6 separate regions of the Homo sapiens genome follow, and regions 1, 2, 3, 4 and 6 are each linked to region 5. The links are contacts of gene promoters, found by promoter capture Hi-C in human tissues and cell types (Jung and others, 2019). All regions are on one chromosome and are shown on one strand. The core of a region is centred on a gene start or on the middle of the fragment in contact, and the rest is flanking DNA. Distances in the headings are between cores, read along the strand shown. Region 1 overlaps ERVK13-1 (endogenous retrovirus group K13 member 1). Region 2 overlaps ABCA3 (ATP binding cassette subfamily A member 3). Region 3 overlaps SRRM2 (serine/arginine repetitive matrix 2). Region 4 has its middle 29 kb from the start of ABCA3. Region 5 holds the start of CEMP1 (cementum protein 1). Region 6 overlaps KCTD5 (potassium channel tetramerization domain containing 5).

Region 1 (2,700 bases), core at 37-2,536, 130 kb before region 5:
GCTCTTTACGTACACTAACTATCTAGATCAAATTTCTACCTTAATTGGTCAGGCTCGTTCTCGTCTCCTTCGTCTTTCAGGAACAGAGCCTCAAAAAATCGTTGTTCCCCTTACCCGATTACAAGTTCAACAGGCTTTGCTACTTGCATTGCTTGGCAAGTGCATTTGGCACGTTTCCCAGGTATAATTGATAATCACTATCCTCATGTAAAATTATTTCAGTTCCTTAAACTCACGTCTTGGATTTTACGTAACATTACTAGAAACACCCCATTACCTGAAGCTGTCACTGTTTTCACTGATGCTTCCTCTAATGGCCGAGCAGCATATACAGGACCCAGAGAACGTGTTCTTAACACAGGGGCTATTTCAGCACAACGAGCTGAACTGCCTGCTGTTATGGCTGTCCTTGAAGATTTTCCTGAGCCAGTTAACATTTTCTCTGACTCAGCGTATGTCGTACATGTTGCTCGCAACATTGAAACTGCCTTAATCAAATTTCTGCCTGATGATAACCTATTCCTTCTTTTTCAAAAGTTTCAGTCTGTGCTCAGAGCAAGGTCTTCTCCTTTCTACAGTACTCACATTCGGGCCCACACACCCCTCCCCGGACCCCTCTCGGCAGCAAATGCCAGAGCTGATACATTAGTTACTCCCGTTTTTACAGATGCAGAAAATTTTCATGCTTTAACTCACGTCAATGCTGCGGGACTCCGAAACAAGTTCCCCCTTACATGGAAGCAAGCTAAAACTACTGTGCGTCACTGTCCTACTTGTCAAGTGTTAATTTTACCACCACTGTCTTCAGGAGTTAACCCTAGAGGACTTTCACAGAATGCTCTTTGGCAAATGGATGTGACTCATTATCCTCCTTTTGGCAAGCTTTCTTTTATACATGTAACTATTGATACCTTTTCTCATTTTATTTGGGCCACTTGTGAAACGGGCGAAAGTACAGCTCATGGTAAACGACATGTGCCTTCCTGTTTCTCGGTTATGGGCTGTTCTGAGAAACTAAAAACTGATAACGGCCCCGCCTACACTAGTGCTGCTTTTAAAAAGTTTCCTCAGACATGGGCAATTACTCACACAACGGGCATTCCCTATAACTCTGGAGAACAGGCCTTGGTTGAACGAGCCAATAAAACACTCAAAGATCAACTTCGTAAACAGGATACTAAATCAAAGGGAGATGCTATTACTCCTCATGCCCAATTAAATCTGGCTCTTTTCACACTAAATTTCTTAAACTTAACAAGAAATCAACCTTTCACAGCCGCAGAACAACATTTCACTGGAAATAAATTTGATCCACAAAAAGGAATGCGGGTATGGTGGAAGGACGTAAAAACTAACACATGGGAATTAGGCACGGTCATAACTTGGGGTAGGGGTTTTGTTTGTGTTTCCCCAGGAAAAGAACTACAGCCTGTGTGGGTCCCCTCCCGACAATTAAAATTGCACCATAACTCCAAAGATGAAACGCTCCCAGAAAGAAAAGGCAAAGACCCATCGGAAACAAAAGAGCAACTTTCACCGCCTGATACATACACTTCATGACATCCACATTGAGACAAAATCTCGCCGTGTGACCTACAACACCTCTCGTTCAACCCCACCTACTTGGGGTCGAATACAGATTTTATCTCATCAAACAGAAAAATTCTTAACAGAAAAAGGAATCCCAAAAATGACTGGTAATATAATTCTGGCTGCCTTTATGGTAGTCAGTGCAGCGGTAAGTATACCACCGGTCGGGGCAACTCAAAATTATACTTATTGGGCATATGTTCCTTTTCCCCTTCTAATTCGGTCTGTCTCCTGGAGGGACTCTCCAGTAGAAGTTTACACTAATAATAGTGCATTCATGCCGATCCCTAATGATGATCGGTTTCCAGCTCAACCGGAAGAAGAAGGTATGCACTTTAATCTGTCAATTGGCTATAAATATCCACCATTATGTATTGGGAAGTCGCCTGGTTGTTTAGCTTATTCTTAACAGAATTGGATGTGGACTGTACCGTCCTTTACAAATGATTCTTATCAAGTATATAATGTGTTCAGTACTAACTCTTTTCAACTTCTCACTGTCAAACGTACCCCACATGAGGCATGGAGAGTTCCTCTCACTACCAAAACTAATAAAACAAAAGGACTGCCGGACTGTCCAAAGAAACCTACAAATGGGCCTTTTATAGTGACTTCAATTTTATGGGATAATTGTAATGCTCCCAAGGCTGTTGTACTCCAAACTCTAGCCATGGGTATTGTTATTGATTGGGCTCCAAAAGGACATTATTGGCAAGATTGCTCCAGCAAAAATACCTTATGCTCGGAGTTTATTTATTCCTTAGATTATATAGAGCATGGGTGGCAGTCTTACACGATGAGACAACGGGTGTCTCCTTACCCATTTAAATGGATGGACACAGGTATTGCTCCTCCTAGACCAAAAATTATTCATCCCTTTTTTACCCCAGAACATCCTGAACTATGGAAATTAGCTGCAGCTTTGTCGGGAATAAAGATATGGAACACTACCTATCAGCTCCTTCGTACTAAAACCAAAACACCCACATTCAACATCACCCTTATTTCTGAATGGGTGATACCCATTAGGAGCTGTGTCAAACCCCCTTACATGCTGTTGGTTGGAAATATAATTATGATGCCTGATGCACAAACTATAGAATGTCATAA
Region 2 (2,700 bases), core at 71-2,570, 250 kb after region 5:
GCCCAACCACTGTCTGGGGATGGCAGTCAGCAGTTTCTACGAGAACTACGAGACGCGGAGGTACTGCACCTCCTCCGAGGTCGCCGCCCACTACTGCAAGAAATATAGTGAGTGTCCCAGCCCCGACCCCGGGCAGCACCCCTGCGTCCTCAGGACGTGGTCACTGCAGAGGGGCCTCCTAGGGCAGGGGCTCCTCTGCGTCTGAGTGGCCTGGGGCTGGTGCGTTCCTCTGTACCGCCTTGCCCCACCTCCCACAGCAGCCCCCTCGCGCCCGCTCGCTCCCAGGCCCTGTACCTGAGCTCCCACTCTCCCACCTGCCTCAGTGTCTGGGCATCTGTAACAAGGAACCACAGACCAGCGCTTAGCACGAGGAGTGAATCCCCCATGGCTCAGGGGAGGACCCTTCCTGCTTCTCCCATCTCCTGGAGGCTCCAGGCATCCTGAGCTCCTGGCTGCACCTACTCCCCACCACCGCCTCCATCCTCGCATGGCAGCTCCTGTCTCCTGTCTCAAATCTCCTTCTGCATTTCTCTTATAAGGACACTTGCTGTTGGGTTTAAGGCCCACACTAATCCAGTGTCTCACCTTAAGATCCTTACTAATCACATATTCAAAGACCCTGTTTCTAAGCAAGATCACAACCCCAGGTCCAGGGGGACAGAACTTGGACCTGTCCTGTGGGGCCTCCTCAGCCTCCCACACACCCCTCGGTGCTTGTAACGGTCTCTGTCCTGGTCAGGAGGCAGCCCAGGATTCACGCAGAGCCTGTGCCTCTCAGGCGGGCTGTTGCTGCCCTGGGTCTGCCATGTCGCTCATGGGACTGCATTGGATTGTTACGTGCCTGGCCCCTCTCTGAGCTGTGGTGCCTCGAGAGGCAGCTGTGACCTACTGGCCTTCACATCTCCCCATGGAGGGGACATTGTTACAGGCGCCTTGAGCAGCCTGGGGAGGGGAGTGGGGGCCGGGAACCTGGAAGGGGAGGAGGGTGCCCCAGGCCTCGGGGCACAGTGACTCCCTCGCCCCACAGACATCCAGTACCAGGAGAACTTCTATGCCTGGAGCGCCCCGGGGGTCGGCCGGTTTGTGGCCTCCATGGCCGCCTCAGGGTGCGCCTACCTCATCCTGCTCTTCCTCATCGAGACCAACCTGCTTCAGAGACTCAGGGGCATCCTCTGCGCCCTCCGGAGGAGGCGGACACTGGTGAGTGGCTCCGGGAGCCCAGGACACTGGCGAGATGCTCCCCACGTCTCTGCTTGGGCCCAGCACAACCTGGGGCAGCTCCACCTCCTTCTCCACCAGGCAGCTCCTGCACCAGATGGTCTCCCACTGTACGGCCTCAGCACCAGCCGGCACTTACAGCCAGGGCGGGGCACAGCCCTCGCCACTCACAAGGGCTGTCGAGTTGTGAGCCCCTGCCGAGGAGTCAGCCTGGGGGCCCAGGGCCGTCCTGCTGAGGAGAGGTGGTGCCCAGGGACACCCAGTGCCTGGAGGAGGGGATGTGGGGCTGAGGGGTGCCCAGTCCTGCTGAGCAGAGGTGGTGCCCAGGGACACCCAGTGCCCGGAGGAGGGGATGTGGGGCTGAGGGTTGCCCAGTCCTGCTGAGCAGAGGTGGTGCCCAGGGACACCCAGTGCCCGGAGGAGGGGATGTGGGGCTGAGGGGTGCCCAGTCCTGCTGAGCAGAGGTGGTGCCCAGGGACACCCAGTGCCCGGAGGAGGGGATGTGGGGCTGAGGGGTGCCCAGTCCTGCTGAGCAGAGGTGGTGCCCAGGGACACCCAGTGCCCGGAGGAGGGGATGTGGGGCTGAGGGGTGCTCCACGTGTTTATTGAAAACGTTCATTTTCTCAGGTCTCCATCCCCTCCCTCAAACAAACAAAAGCAAATGTGTTGACATTGCATTGCACATACAGCTTAGCCGAGGGGGAATTCACTTCTTTAAAATAGTCAGACTTCTCTAAAAAGGGAACTGTCTCCACGTGTTAAAATCTTTGGCCAGGCATGGTGGCTCACACCTGTAATCCCAGCACTTTAGAAAGCAGAGGTAGGTGGATCACCTGAAGCCAGGAGTTCAAGACTAGTCTGGGCAACATAGTGAGACCCTATCTCTTCTAAACAGTTTTAAAAATTAGCTAGGCATGATGGCACACACCTGTAATCCTAGCTACTAGGGAAGCTGAGACAGGAGGCTTAAGCCTGGGAGGTCCGGGCTGCAGTGACCTATGATTACACCATTGCATCCCAGCCTGGGTGACAGAGCAAGACCCCATCTCTAAATCTGAAAACAAAAATCTTACTTTCAGGCCAGCCATGGTGGCTAATGCCTGTAATCCCAACACTTTGGGAGGCCAAGGTGGACGGATCACCAAAGGTCAGGAGTTCTAGACCAGCCTGGCCAACACAGTGAAACTCCGTCTCTACTAAAAATACAAAAATTAGCTGGGCGTGGTGGCGCGCTACTCGGGAGGCTGAAGCAGGAGAATCAGTTGAACCTGGGAGGCAGAGTTTGCAGTGAGCTGAGATTGCGCCACTGCACTCCAGCCTGGACAACAGAGTGAGACTCTGTCTCAAAAAAAAAAAAAAAATTGTCTAAAAATCTTATTTTATATTCCCCAGCAGATTTATGATTTTTCTCCATGAGTCCCGCACAGTTCTTTTTCCTCAGATAGTTTATGTCTCCTGGATGCTAGTTTAGCCCCGTAAGAC
Region 3 (2,786 bases), core at 59-2,558, 230 kb before region 5:
AGACTGATAGCTGTCAGGGCAAGTGCAATCCTGGACTGAGCATGATTTTCTGGCACAGATGTTCTCTGGTGGTCAGGTATTCGGGGACCTGGACCATCCATCATGGAGCCGCCGGCTTGCTGCAGGACAGACATGGGTGTTCTAGAGCTGCCAAGGGGTTCAAGCATTCCAGGTGATCTGCAGCGATCAAGAGGTGTTGGGGACATGCTAGGACGACTGAAGCAGCTCATTCTGGAACTGTTGAGTGCTACTGGAGGTGTCCGTGAACCAGAATGATTTCTTGTTGCTGGAGGAGTAGCAGATCGTGAACGATCAGAACTACTTCCAGATGCAGAACGCCTGCGGATGGCTGGAGGAGATCTTGTTAAGGACCGTTTACCCCGAGCTGTTCGTGGAGTACGGGATCTGGAGCGGCGGCGGATAGCAAGTGGTGAGCGACTTCGAGAACGTTTGCGTGGTAACAGTGGCGTTCGAGATCTAGAGCGGCGCCGAATAGCTGGAGGTGTCCGGGACCTAGAGCGGCGGCGTGTCACTGGTGAGGTTCGAGAGCGGGACCTTCTTCGAGTTACTGGAGATGTGCGAGATCGAGATCTCCTTCGGGTGACCGGAGATGTTCTGGATCTTGATCTTCTGCGAGTGATAGGCGAAGTTCTGCTTCGAGATCGCCTCCTGGTTACTGGTGGAGTCCTGGATCTGGACCTTCTGCGAGTCACTGGTGGAGTTCTAGAACGGGAGCGGCGGCGTGTTGTTGGCGTTCTAGACCTTGAACGACGGCGGGTTACTGGTGGCGTTCTGGATCTGGATCGCCTTCTGCTCACTGGGGATGCTCTTGACCGGGATCTTCGTCGAGTCACTGAAGTCCTGGACCTTGACCGTCTCCGGCTGACTGGTGAAGTTCGAGATCTGGACCTACGTCGGCTTATCAGGGGGGTTCTGGACCTGGATCGCCGGTGAGTGGCTGGAGAGGCTCGAGATCTAGAGCGTTTCCACGGGGCTGGTGATGTGCGTGAGCGAGAACGCTTCCGACTGGTTGGGGGTGTCCGAGAGCGGCCTCTTCGGCGTCGAGAGGAGGTCCGGGAACTTTCCTGCCGGGCAGGTGACCTTGAGTGATAACCAGAGCCTCCCCTCCGCCGCCGAGTAACCCGCGACCTTGACCGGCTCCGCTGTCTTCGCCGAGAGGTTGACTGAGAAGATCCAGACCTATCTCGACGTCGGGTTGTTCTTGTTTTCTCTCTCCTTGAGCGGGAACGGGACCTCTGGAGTCCACGAGGCTTTGGCGAAGGAGAGCGGCCTCTCCTTGAGGTTGTCTTAGTGCGTGGAGATGAAGCTGAGCGCCGTCGGCGTGAAGACCTCGATTTTTCGGCTGGCTCCGGGGAAGACACTGAGGGACTTCTCCGGTGCCTTGGGGGAGTTCTAGAGCGAGTTTCTGGTGAGGATGAGGCAGAGCGGCTTCTACGGGACAGTCTGGCCTTCCTTGTTAGCTCCGGAGATGATCGAGAGCTGCGACGTCGAGGTGGTGTACGAGACTTGGTCTTGGGCTCTGGTGATGACCTGGAACCTCTGCGAGCAGTTCTGGATTTGGGCGGATGTTCAGGAGAGGACTCGGTACTGCTGCTTCCTTCAGGAGAAGGGCCTCTGCCTTTGCTTGATGAACCTGATCTGCTTCGTCTGGGAAGGGCCCGAGGGGCTGGAGCTTTAGGTTCAGGAGAGGAATCAGAACCACTCTGTGCCCTGGGTGCTGCTCTTGGCTTATCTTTCACTTCAGGGGAGGAACCAGACCTACTGCGCCGAGGGGATAGTCGAGATTTGCTGTCAACCTCTGGAGATGATCCAGACCGACTCCTCTGCCGAAGTGGGGTTCTTGTCTTGGCTTTAGAATCTGGAGAAGAGTCTGACTCACTTCTTTCCTGAGGGGATGCACTGGGTTTCACATCAAGTTCTTGAGAGGATCCCGAACGACTTCTCTGCCCCAGGGGAGTCCGAGCCACAGTTTTCTGATCAACTGATGATTCTGACCCGCTTCTTTCTCTCTGGGGGGTAAGACACTTGTTGTTGAGCTCTGGGGATGATGGAGAACGACTCCTCGGCCTAGGAGTCTGAGGCAAAGCTTTCGGTTCTGGGGAAGAATCACATTCGCTTCTCCCTCTAGATGGCGTTCTAGGTATATCTTTCATTCCAGGAGAGGACCCAGACAGGCTGTGCCTCGAGGGAGTCCCAGACCCATCTCTAAGTCCTGGAGAAGACCCAGACCTGCTTCTCCTTGATGGAGTTCTGGGTAAACCATCTTTCATTTCAGGAGAAGATGCAGAACTACTTCTTTCTCTCGAGGGTGTTCTGGGTACAGCATCAAGCACAGGTGAAGAGATGCTCTGATTTGAAGACATCCCTGCCTTTTCCACTGCATCTGGGGATAACTCAGAACTGCTGTGTCCAGAGGATCTTGTCGATTGTTCTTTCATGTCTAGAGATGGATCTGTTTCCAGCTGATTAAGAAACGGTCCATTCAAATCTTCTTTAACCTCAGAAGAAAATCCAGTATTCATTTCTGTACCAAGTGGGCCTGAGTTTCTAAATTCTAAAGGTGATCCAAAGCTGTTCTCCCTGAGTGGGGAGTTAGACAGTTCTTTATGTTCTGGAGAAAAATGTGGCCCACCCCAAGATGAGGCCATTGAAGGGACTTCTACTGCTTCCAAAGAAGCCTGTGACTGGCTCTGATCAAGAGTCAAAGACACAGCAGGCCTTTCTTCTACTTCAGGAGATGATTCAAAGTTACTTGTGGACATTTC
Region 4 (2,822 bases), core at 92-2,591, 160 kb after region 5:
CAAGGATTCATGTAATAACAGAGGTGGGATCACCTAGATTGCAAGCAAGTTAAAATTGTGAACAACCTTCCAAGTTCCAACTCACCTTGGAAGTTGCTTGGACACCTAAGCAACCTCCTTTTGGCTTCATTCCTATTCTGGTCATTTTTCATTAGCAGCTTCCCCATACCCCTGTCCCAGGAGAGGCATACACTTGAAGTATCTGGGGTTACCTTCAGTCTTTTCTCTTTCTCCAGTACAATGGAACTGATGATGATGAGCTCAATGTACATGAAGCTGAGTATGAAGAACACAGAAAACTCATTCTGAAGGACTAGGAAGAACCTGTCCTCGATATAGGGTCCATATGGGAATCTCTTCACAAGTACATTGAGATTCTCAAACATGTTGGTCATTGCATTGTGAGCATGGTACCACATGATGGCTTTATCCACAGCATACTGTATGGCCAGGAAGCCTTCTTTGTTGTATCCTATGAGAAAATAGTGAATATCAAGAAATTAAGGTCAGGAGTTCGAGACCAGCCTGGCCAATATGGTGAAACCCCATCTCTACTAAGAATACAAAAATTAGCTGGGTGTGGTGGTGCATGCCTAAAGTCCCAGCTACTCGGGAGGCTGAGGCAGAATTGCTTGAACCTGGTGGGAGGCAGAGGTTGCAGTGAGCTGAGATTGCGCCACTGCATTCCAGCCTGGGCAACAGAGGGAGATTCCATCTCAAAAAAAAAAAAAAAAAAGAAAGAAAGAAAGAAAGAAAAAGAAAAAAGAAAGAAAGTATAAAGATACAACAACTGGTGTTTCAGACGGATCATGGCTAGGCATTCATAGAGACAGACAGCGGTAGGAAAGGCATCCCTAGAGTCCTCACTACAGTGTGGAAGAAAGAGAGGAAAGTCACAAGGGAGACCCCTGGAGCTGAGGGTAATGCATATATGATCCAAAAATGGGGTAAAGGAGCCTGGGCAGGCAAAATAAAAGATGTCCAATACAAGAATCTTTTGAGGTGGGACCACATCTCCTCCCCTTAGTATTCAGACTTCAGGGAAAGAGCACCTCTTCTGCAGTTTTGATCACACAGCACGTATGAGATGGTTAAACTCAAAGCACTCATATGAGATGGTTAAACTCAAAGCACTTGAAAGACACAGCCTCCCTAACCTGTTGTGACCTACTTCTGAATTGTTACCGCTGTTGGGTTTATGGTCAGTGAATTTTACTACTAAGTCTCAAAAACAGTCCTTATCACAAGCAACACTCATTTCAATACAGCATAGTTGGCATGATGGGGTCAGCTTTCAGGAAAAATAGGCTGAAAGGCAAAGATTCCTGGTTCTGGGGTCCTCTAAGAGATAACAGCCCCACCTCCAAGCAATGGTTACCAGGCTCCAACATGAGCAAAGCCAAGGTGGGGTACCTCAACCCCCTCCCAGGAGTAGAGGTGGCTATGGTCTTCAGATGGCCTAGACCTAGGCAGACTCTCAGATCTGTCCAGGAAAAAGAAGGAACAAATTGTTGGTAATAAATTCTCAGAATGGTTACATATTCTTGATTGTGTGTAGGAGTATTTTCACTGCAGAACTGCTGGATCTTTTCTAGAATTATGCAAAACTGTAAGTACTCGGACTTGGACTCTCACTTAGTGTGCACAAAGGCCTGAGGCTTCAAGCCAATATTTGAGCCATTCTACAACAGATGTAGATTACCAGCTTAATTTTCTAAGAAAAGTTAGTTGCCTAGAGGATGTTCACCCTAAACCCCTCACAAAAAGGAAGACCAAAAAATCTAAAGTGAATGGGAGAGCATGAGTCTTTCAAGAGCGGATTGGCCCATGGGCCTTCAGTCGGGAATGTGATGCTTATTGTGAAGGACAGAGGATGCACAGGTGTCAGTGTTGCCCCAGTACTTCTCTAGGAACCTGGGGTTGCCAGAAGCGAGAGTTGGGCAACGCAGGCAGATCCAGGGAGTACTGGGTGCCAAGTTTTAGGTGTTTGCTCTGTCAGGTGCAGTTAGACCCCTTTGCATGGGAGAGAGCAAGCAGATGCAAAGCAGCCACTCAGCAAGGCTCTCTCCTTCACCCTCAACAGAGGGTGACAGAGCAGAAAGTCAGCATGGCTCCCCAAGAAGAGAGGACTATGGCAGCCAGGAGTCAGGACCTGGCTTTGGGACCACATGCCAGCCCTTGGGACAAATAGGAACTCCTGGAAAAACTCCAACCTTCTGGCATTAATTTTCTGTCCTCTTATCCTGAATGACAGACAGGGAAAAGGAGATTTTCCCAGACTAGAAATGCAGATAGGGAGATTCATGAGAGGGAAAGGGAGAGGGCCAGCCAAGACCAAGAGGCCTGAAGAACAGGAACTGGGATTCTGCACCAGTGTTGCAGATGGGGCAGGGAGGATGGAATAAGAATCAAGGCAAGATCTAAAAGCATCAGTCAGAGTAAATAAAATCAAAGTGAAGCATCAGCCAATGAACAGGCCAGAAAGAGTTCAGGGATTCCCCCAAAGCAGGAACAGACTCTTTGGAGCTGCACAGACATGCAGAGAGTCCCAAGAGTGTGGATGATTATCTTCTGTTTCTTCTTCATTAAATTAAATGAGACGGATGAAATGCAAAGGATACAGTCAGTGGAGATTGTAATGGAGGCATGTTAGACATAGATCATACAATATGACATGCGTGTTGAACAGGACATGTGTTTAAAAAGATAGAATAGGGCCAAAAGTGGTGGCTCATGCCTGTAATCCCAGTAGTTTGGGAGGCCGAGGTGGGCGGATCACCTGAGGTCAGGAGTTCGAGATCAGCCTGGCCAACATGGTGAAA
Region 5 (2,745 bases), core at 31-2,530:
CATTTCCCAAGACAGTGAGGGCGGGGCTAGAGGCCAGGTGCGGAGGTGCGGGACAGGAGCCAAGCTGGGTCGTAGTGGGATCCACCTGTGCGTGATACGTAACAGAAGGGAGAGGCGAGGCGCGGGGAGGTCCGCAGGGATGTGGGAGACGCGACGGGGAGGACTGGGACGAAACAAACTAGGTCCGCAAGGGTATAAGGGGAGCAGCTCGGAGGGTTGGGGCGAGGCGGGGTCTACAGGGGTGTGGGGGGCTTGGCAGGGAGCGCTGGGGCGACGCGGAGCTCCGCAGCGTTGGCGGGGAGCGTTGTGGGGAGACGGGGTCTGCAGGAATGTGAGGGCGCGGTGGGGAGCGTAGCGGGGTATGCAAGGTTGTGAGGGTTGTGGATGGGAGGGCTGGGGCGAGGCGGGGTCCGCAGAGATGTGGGGGGCGCAGAGATGGGGGGGGTCCGCGGGCCCGCCGGGGACCGCGCAGCCTCGGGCTCTGTGCCCGGGGCCGCGCGGGTTAACTAGAGAAGGTGACGCGCGCCCCTGTTGCTCAGCCGCGGCGCGTGCCTTCCCTGCGGCGATCCTAATTGGCCCGACAGAAGCCCGCCCCCAGAAGCCCCTCCCACAGTAGGCAAGGCCCCGCGTGCCGCAACGCTCCCAGAGTTGCGCGTCAGCCTGGACTCAGCGCCTGCGCTACGAGGCTGGGCGGGGCGCGGCCGGATCGGTCGAGAGCGTCCTGGCTGATGACGGTCTCCCGTGCCCACGCCCCAAACGCAGTCTCTGGCCTGGATGTGCTCGGAGCCCACGAGGTGCAGAGGCTCGGACGGCGAAAGGGACCTGGCTGAGATCTGGGTCTTAAACCGCGGGCTCGGCCCAGCATCCCGGCAGCGTGCGCCCACAAGTGACACCCGGCCGGGCGCGGTCTGCGGGATCGCAGGCGCCGGGTCTCATCTCCAGTTCACACACGGGACGAAACGGGCCACCCCTACCAGCTCTGAGAGCATGCACCTCCAACTCCATCCCTCCCCACATGCCCGACCCCCCAACCCGTAACTCAGGCAGACACCTGGGCGTCCCCCTTCAGCGAATGCCCACACCGCGGGCAGGCCTGCCCCTCACCCCGCAGTCAGGGCGCCCTGCATCCTTCTTTGTAAAACCCATAGCTGTAGAGGGAGCGGAATGGTGGGGCAGGGCTGGGAGCCCAGCGGGAGTGAGTGGTGGGGAATGATGGTGGCCAAGGTCACACAAAGCAGTGAATTCACTTCATGTCACAGAACTGCTCAGGTTACGATAGTTACTTTTGTTATGTATTTTACCACAATTTTTAAAAAGCAAACCAAAACCAACCAAGAGTGCTTCCCCCACACCTCAAAATCATCCTGCAGCAGCTCCCTGGCCCAGCTCTCTCTCACCCTGACCCTGGGCCCCTCTCCCACCACCCAGGGCTAGCCCTGTGGACCAACCATCTCTGCCAGCCCCTCCCCGACCCTCCAGCCAGGGAGGTGGGGCGCTGGCCGGTGAATGGGGCAGGCCAGGCCCAAAGGCTGGCCCAGGGCTCACCAGCTCTGGACTGGGCGTCCCGTCTGAGGTGGGGATGACCAACATGCCAGCTCTGGGTTTTAGCTGAGGATGGGCACATCAAGCACTGACAGCCAGCAAGCTGGGCACAGGCGATGCTCAACCTCTAACACATCGGCTGAGAACCTCACCTGCCTCTCCCTGCCTGGGAGCCCTGGCAAGACAGCTCCTCTCCCAGGCCCAGCACAGGCAGGCGCTGGACAGCCACTTCCTAAGGGGTGCGCGGCCGTCAAGGCAGAGGTGGGTATCCCTGCACCTCACACCTCTCAGGAGGTCAGGATCCACATCCGTCGCCTGCTTTCCTGGGCTGCCCCTGGGGCTTGTGGGCTGAGATCAACCCCTTGTGCCCTGCCCCAGGCCCTCCCTCAGGCGAGGCCCTGCCCAGGCAGGTGGTTCTTCCCTGGCTGTTCCCTTCCAACAGGTGGGGCCCAGACCATCCTATCTCTTTGGACCTGGAGACATTTCCTTAACTGGGCTTTGCAGCAGAGGGAAGAGAACAGTGGCAGAGCCAGGCGCGTACCTCCTGTGCCCAGGACAGCACCTGTAAGCAAGGGGGAAGGGAGCCACCCACCCCAGAACTCAAATGGAGAGAAAGTCAAGACAATCACCCCTGACGTGGGGCTGCACCAATCCCTGACGTCTGACCCCACTGTGGCTGTCCTCAGAGCCAAGAGGGCTCCAGAAGCCCACCCGCCTCGAAGCTGTTCAGGGAGCCTCACGGCCCGTGTTTGCCACATGGGTGTGTGCCAGGGCCAAGGGGACACAGAAGATGGCAGGATGACACTAATGGGGTGAGCAGGGCACACTGGTGCCTCCCATACTGCCCTCCAGCACCAGGCAGGGTCACCACAGCCGGCAAGCACTGGGCCTGGGGATGTGTGAAGAGATAGGGTTATTGAGAAGAGAAAACAGAACGCTGGTCATCCGTGGCACTCAGGGCTAGGCAGTCCAGGGAGCAGAAAACAGGGGTCCCGGGCCCAGTCTCCCTCCTGGAGGTCAGAGCGGAGCCCCTGGCACTGTGCCCTGGCCCAGAACCAGGCTGTGGGCTCCACGCTGCACACCCCAACTCAGGAGCAGAAAGCAAACCCCTGACTGTCCACACTCCCTGTGACTGGTCCCCTTCCTGCCGGCTCTTCACCCCCAGCCCATGGTGGCTTCACCCCATGGCACCAGCCACTGACT
Region 6 (2,700 bases), core at 58-2,557, 160 kb before region 5:
CAGGGCCAAGCGCTGGAGAAGCAACCCCACACCCCATTCGGAGCAGGAGCAGCCCCCTCACCAGATGGTGGCTCCTGTGGGGCCATGGGCAGGCGCTGGCCACGGGAATGCCAGGCTCGCAGATATGGGGAGGCCGAAGGTGTCTCCACCACAAAGCACGGGGCCACGCTAGGACCCTATTTTCATCCATGGACAAATTCTGCCATTTGGGTGCTAAGACCTAGTGGTCTCAAGAGATTTTCCCAAAGTCCACCACCGCAAACCTGCAACAACCTGCTCTTTTTAGATCACAGGGACTGAGTTTTGTGGCTGAGATAAAATCAATTAGGGCTCCGGGCATGGGGGCGCTGGACCCGGAGCCTCGGCGGCCCCCCTACTCCTTAGGGTGACCCCAGCTCCACACAGACCTGACCCTATCCTCCTTCCCCACCCTCCCCCGGAACACTCCAGCCAGAGCTGCCCACCCCACAGGCCCTGCCTCCTGGGCTTGGCCCTGCCTTTCCCCAGCCCTCCAGACTCCACAGCTCTCAAGCAAGGGCCGGGGCCACAGGGCCAGCTCCCGGGAAGAGGACGCTGGGCGGTCCTGCGCAACTGCTAAAAAATGGACACCATTTCCCACAAAGGGGCCCAAGTCTGGCAAGGCGGCCAGTGCTGCCACCCGAGTCCAGGGTTCCTCCCTGCCCCACCCCCATACAGAGAGAATGCTGGCCGCGTGACGTCCGCACACCGCTCAGCTCAGGAATTATTCACGGCTCACTGCTACCTCGACAGACCGCTGGCAGGAGGTCAGGAAAGATCAGATAGGGCGGAGGCTCGCCTCTGCCCAGGACAACCCCAGAGAACCCCTTTGTCAGCCATGGAGGCCTCCAGGCCTGGCCTCAGTGGTCAGACTGCAGGCTCACAGCCAGGCCACCCCAAGCCTCAGTTTCTTTACGAGCAAAAGGTGGGGGAGACCAGCTCGTGTAGCTCGGGGCCGCCATGAGTGCCAGGGCACCCAACCTGTGGCAGGACCTGGGCACTGAGCCGTGACCTCTAGGCCAAGACAACCCACCATGTGCTTCTCAGGCCCTGGGCCGGTGCAAGAGGAGAAGGAAGCGTGCTGGGCGCCCCCAGACACACGAGGCAACCCCAGCCCTGCAACTGGAAGGATGAAGGCAGGAGGGAAGGAGGGCAGGGTGGGGACGGCCATCGGCGGAAACTGCACAGCAGGACAGAGGAACACAGACAGGTCCAAGGAGCCGGCAGGGCACTGAGCGTGCTGGCACTGGGCTCGGCCTCAAGACGGGCAGGCAGGGGTAGGCCGCTGCCGTGTCTTGGCCACTCCTACCACTGGGCGGGGCTGGCTTTTCCATTAAACACCCCCTTTAGGAGGCAGCTTTTGTGGCTGATGCTTTGAAGGAACTCCTGACCTCAGTCTGGCCACAGCTGGCCCAGTGCGGTGATGCCAGCAGCAGGCCAACTGGTGCAGCTGCTGCCATCACGTGATACCTGCCGCTGCAGGGAGGGAACAGGGAGGAGGCGAACAGACCCCACTCCCCACACCATAGCCCACTGCCCTCAGCATGGCAGGAGAGCAGCATGGTTGGGTGGAGAGGGGCCCCGATGCAGAGCTGGGGCTGTGCTTCGGGGGCCTGGGGTGGGTAGTGAGAGTGGCACCAGCGGTGAGGACCCAGCCAGTGGCACAGCCATCACACCCACCCCACTGAAGATGTCAGGTTCCCGGGCCTCGGGAGGAGGATCTGCGTGGGGCTGCCTGGGGCTGCAGCCCTGGGGTTCGCCCCACCCAAACTATGGCTGCAGACCCGGGCTTCCCGCTCCACGGAGCAGGCAGGCCCACAACTGCAGCTGCCCAAACCACAGCCTCAGGCATCCCTGCACTCTTGGGGGCCCAGAAAGGCCCCTCTGCCGGGCCCTTGCAGGCTCAGAAGTGCCTGCTCTCACTGCCTGGCTTACTCCTATTGTTGGTGCCTGCTCCGATCTTGGAGCAAAGTTGGGGCCGAGCCCAGGCGCCATGTATGGCAGCAGGAGGCAGATAGATTCCTGGGAAGAAGGGGGTAGGTCCCCGGTAAGGCCCCACCTTCAGGCCAGGGAGGGCATGAAGGCTGGGGCCGGGCTGCCAGTCCCGGGGACCAAAGTGGGGACTTGTGGTGCGTTTTCCGGGCCTGCCCATGAACCAATTAGTATGCACTTCCTTCCCTCTGGGTCCATAAGAGCCCTGGGCTCAGCCAGAGCAGGGCAGAGGACAAAGAGGACAGAGACAATTGGCAAGTGGAAGACCAGCTGCAGAGGGAAGCTACCCTCTCTGCTGAGAGCTGGGAAGTCAATGGAGAGGAGCCAGCCAGTCCGGGGCCGCTTCTCTGCTGAGAGCTGCCAACTGAATGAGCCGACCTGCCTACAGAGAGGAGCTGCCCCCACAGTCTCCTCTGCACTGTCCCAACACTTGGTAAAGCTTCTCTTCGTCATGCTCACCCTCCACTTGTCTGCTACCTCATTCTTCCTGGACGCAGAACAGGAACTTGGACAAAGGTGCTGCCGGCCAGAGACGTTTCTGGCCAGAAAAGCGACACCCTAAAGACACCGTATCAGCAGGGCTGGGCACATCCAGACACAGGGACGTGGAGCTTTGCAAGGCCAAGTTTACCAGCCGGAGCCATGGCACCTTTCCAGGGTGCCTGAAGAGAGATCCTGCTGGCAGTGAGA

Evidence for each region. Contacts are between HindIII fragments. The study calls those that stand out against the background at their distance.
Region 1: a contact is called between a fragment that was not itself captured here and the fragment with the promoter of CEMP1 in region 5, in 5 of the 25 tissues and cell types used here (dorsolateral prefrontal cortex, mesenchymal stem cells, mesendoderm cells and 2 more).
Region 2: a contact is called between a fragment that was not itself captured here and the fragment with the promoter of CEMP1 in region 5, in 4 of the 25 tissues and cell types used here (dorsolateral prefrontal cortex, lymphoblastoid cells, mesenchymal stem cells and 1 more).
Region 3: a fragment that was not itself captured here is called in contact with the fragment with the promoter of CEMP1 in region 5 in 1 of the 25 tissues and cell types used here (lymphoblastoid cells).
Region 4: a fragment that was not itself captured here is called in contact with the fragment with the promoter of CEMP1 in region 5 in 5 of the 25 tissues and cell types used here (IMR-90 fibroblasts, dorsolateral prefrontal cortex, heart right ventricle and 2 more).
Region 6: a fragment that was not itself captured here is called in contact with the fragment with the promoter of CEMP1 in region 5 in 2 of the 25 tissues and cell types used here (bladder and dorsolateral prefrontal cortex).

The regions. Positions count from the first base shown.
Region 1 is chr16:2,662,122-2,664,821 of GRCh38, reverse strand. ERVK13-1 (endogenous retrovirus group K13 member 1) reads left to right here. Exons shown (of 3, transcript NR_040023.1): 3 at 1,415-2,700. Among named protein-coding and RNA genes, the nearest start is that of ERVK13-1, 10 kb to the left of the region's middle. The HindIII fragment of the contact is 6,273 bases long and covers 1-2,700 here.
Region 2 is chr16:2,281,686-2,284,385 of GRCh38, reverse strand. It overlaps ABCA3 (ATP binding cassette subfamily A member 3), which reads left to right. Exons shown (of 33, transcript NM_001089.3): 25 at 1-107; 26 at 1,028-1,200. Among named protein-coding and RNA genes, the nearest start is that of MIR4717, 8.4 kb to the right of the region's middle. The HindIII fragment of the contact is 5,543 bases long and covers 1-2,700 here.
Region 3 is chr16:2,764,312-2,767,097 of GRCh38, reverse strand. It overlaps SRRM2 (serine/arginine repetitive matrix 2), which reads right to left. Exons shown (of 15, transcript NM_016333.4): 11 at 1-2,786. Among named protein-coding and RNA genes, the nearest start is that of ELOB, 12 kb to the left of the region's middle. The HindIII fragment of the contact is 3,944 bases long and covers 1-2,786 here.
Region 4 is chr16:2,367,988-2,370,809 of GRCh38, reverse strand. It overlaps the pseudogene ABCA17P. Among named protein-coding and RNA genes, the nearest start is that of ABCA3, 29 kb to the right of the region's middle. The HindIII fragment of the contact is 6,058 bases long and covers 1-2,822 here.
Region 5 is chr16:2,529,943-2,532,687 of GRCh38, reverse strand. It overlaps CEMP1 (cementum protein 1), which reads left to right and starts at 1,280. Exons shown (of 1, transcript NM_001048212.3): 1 at 1,280-2,653. The coding sequence starts at 1,615. The coding sequence ends at 2,358. AMDHD2 (amidohydrolase domain containing 2) reads right to left here. Exons shown (of 11, transcript NM_001330449.2): 11 at 1,271-2,745. It overlaps MIR3178 (microRNA 3178), which reads left to right and starts at 683; the gene lies at 683-766. RefSeq lists enhancers at 1-47, 1-49, 828-877. The HindIII fragment of the contact is 25,225 bases long and covers 1-2,745 here.
Region 6 is chr16:2,692,080-2,694,779 of GRCh38, reverse strand. All of the region lies in intron 1 of KCTD5 (potassium channel tetramerization domain containing 5), which reads right to left. Among named protein-coding and RNA genes, the nearest start is that of KCTD5, 11 kb to the right of the region's middle. RefSeq lists enhancers at 644-1,461, 1,462-2,280. The HindIII fragment of the contact is 3,408 bases long and covers 1-2,700 here.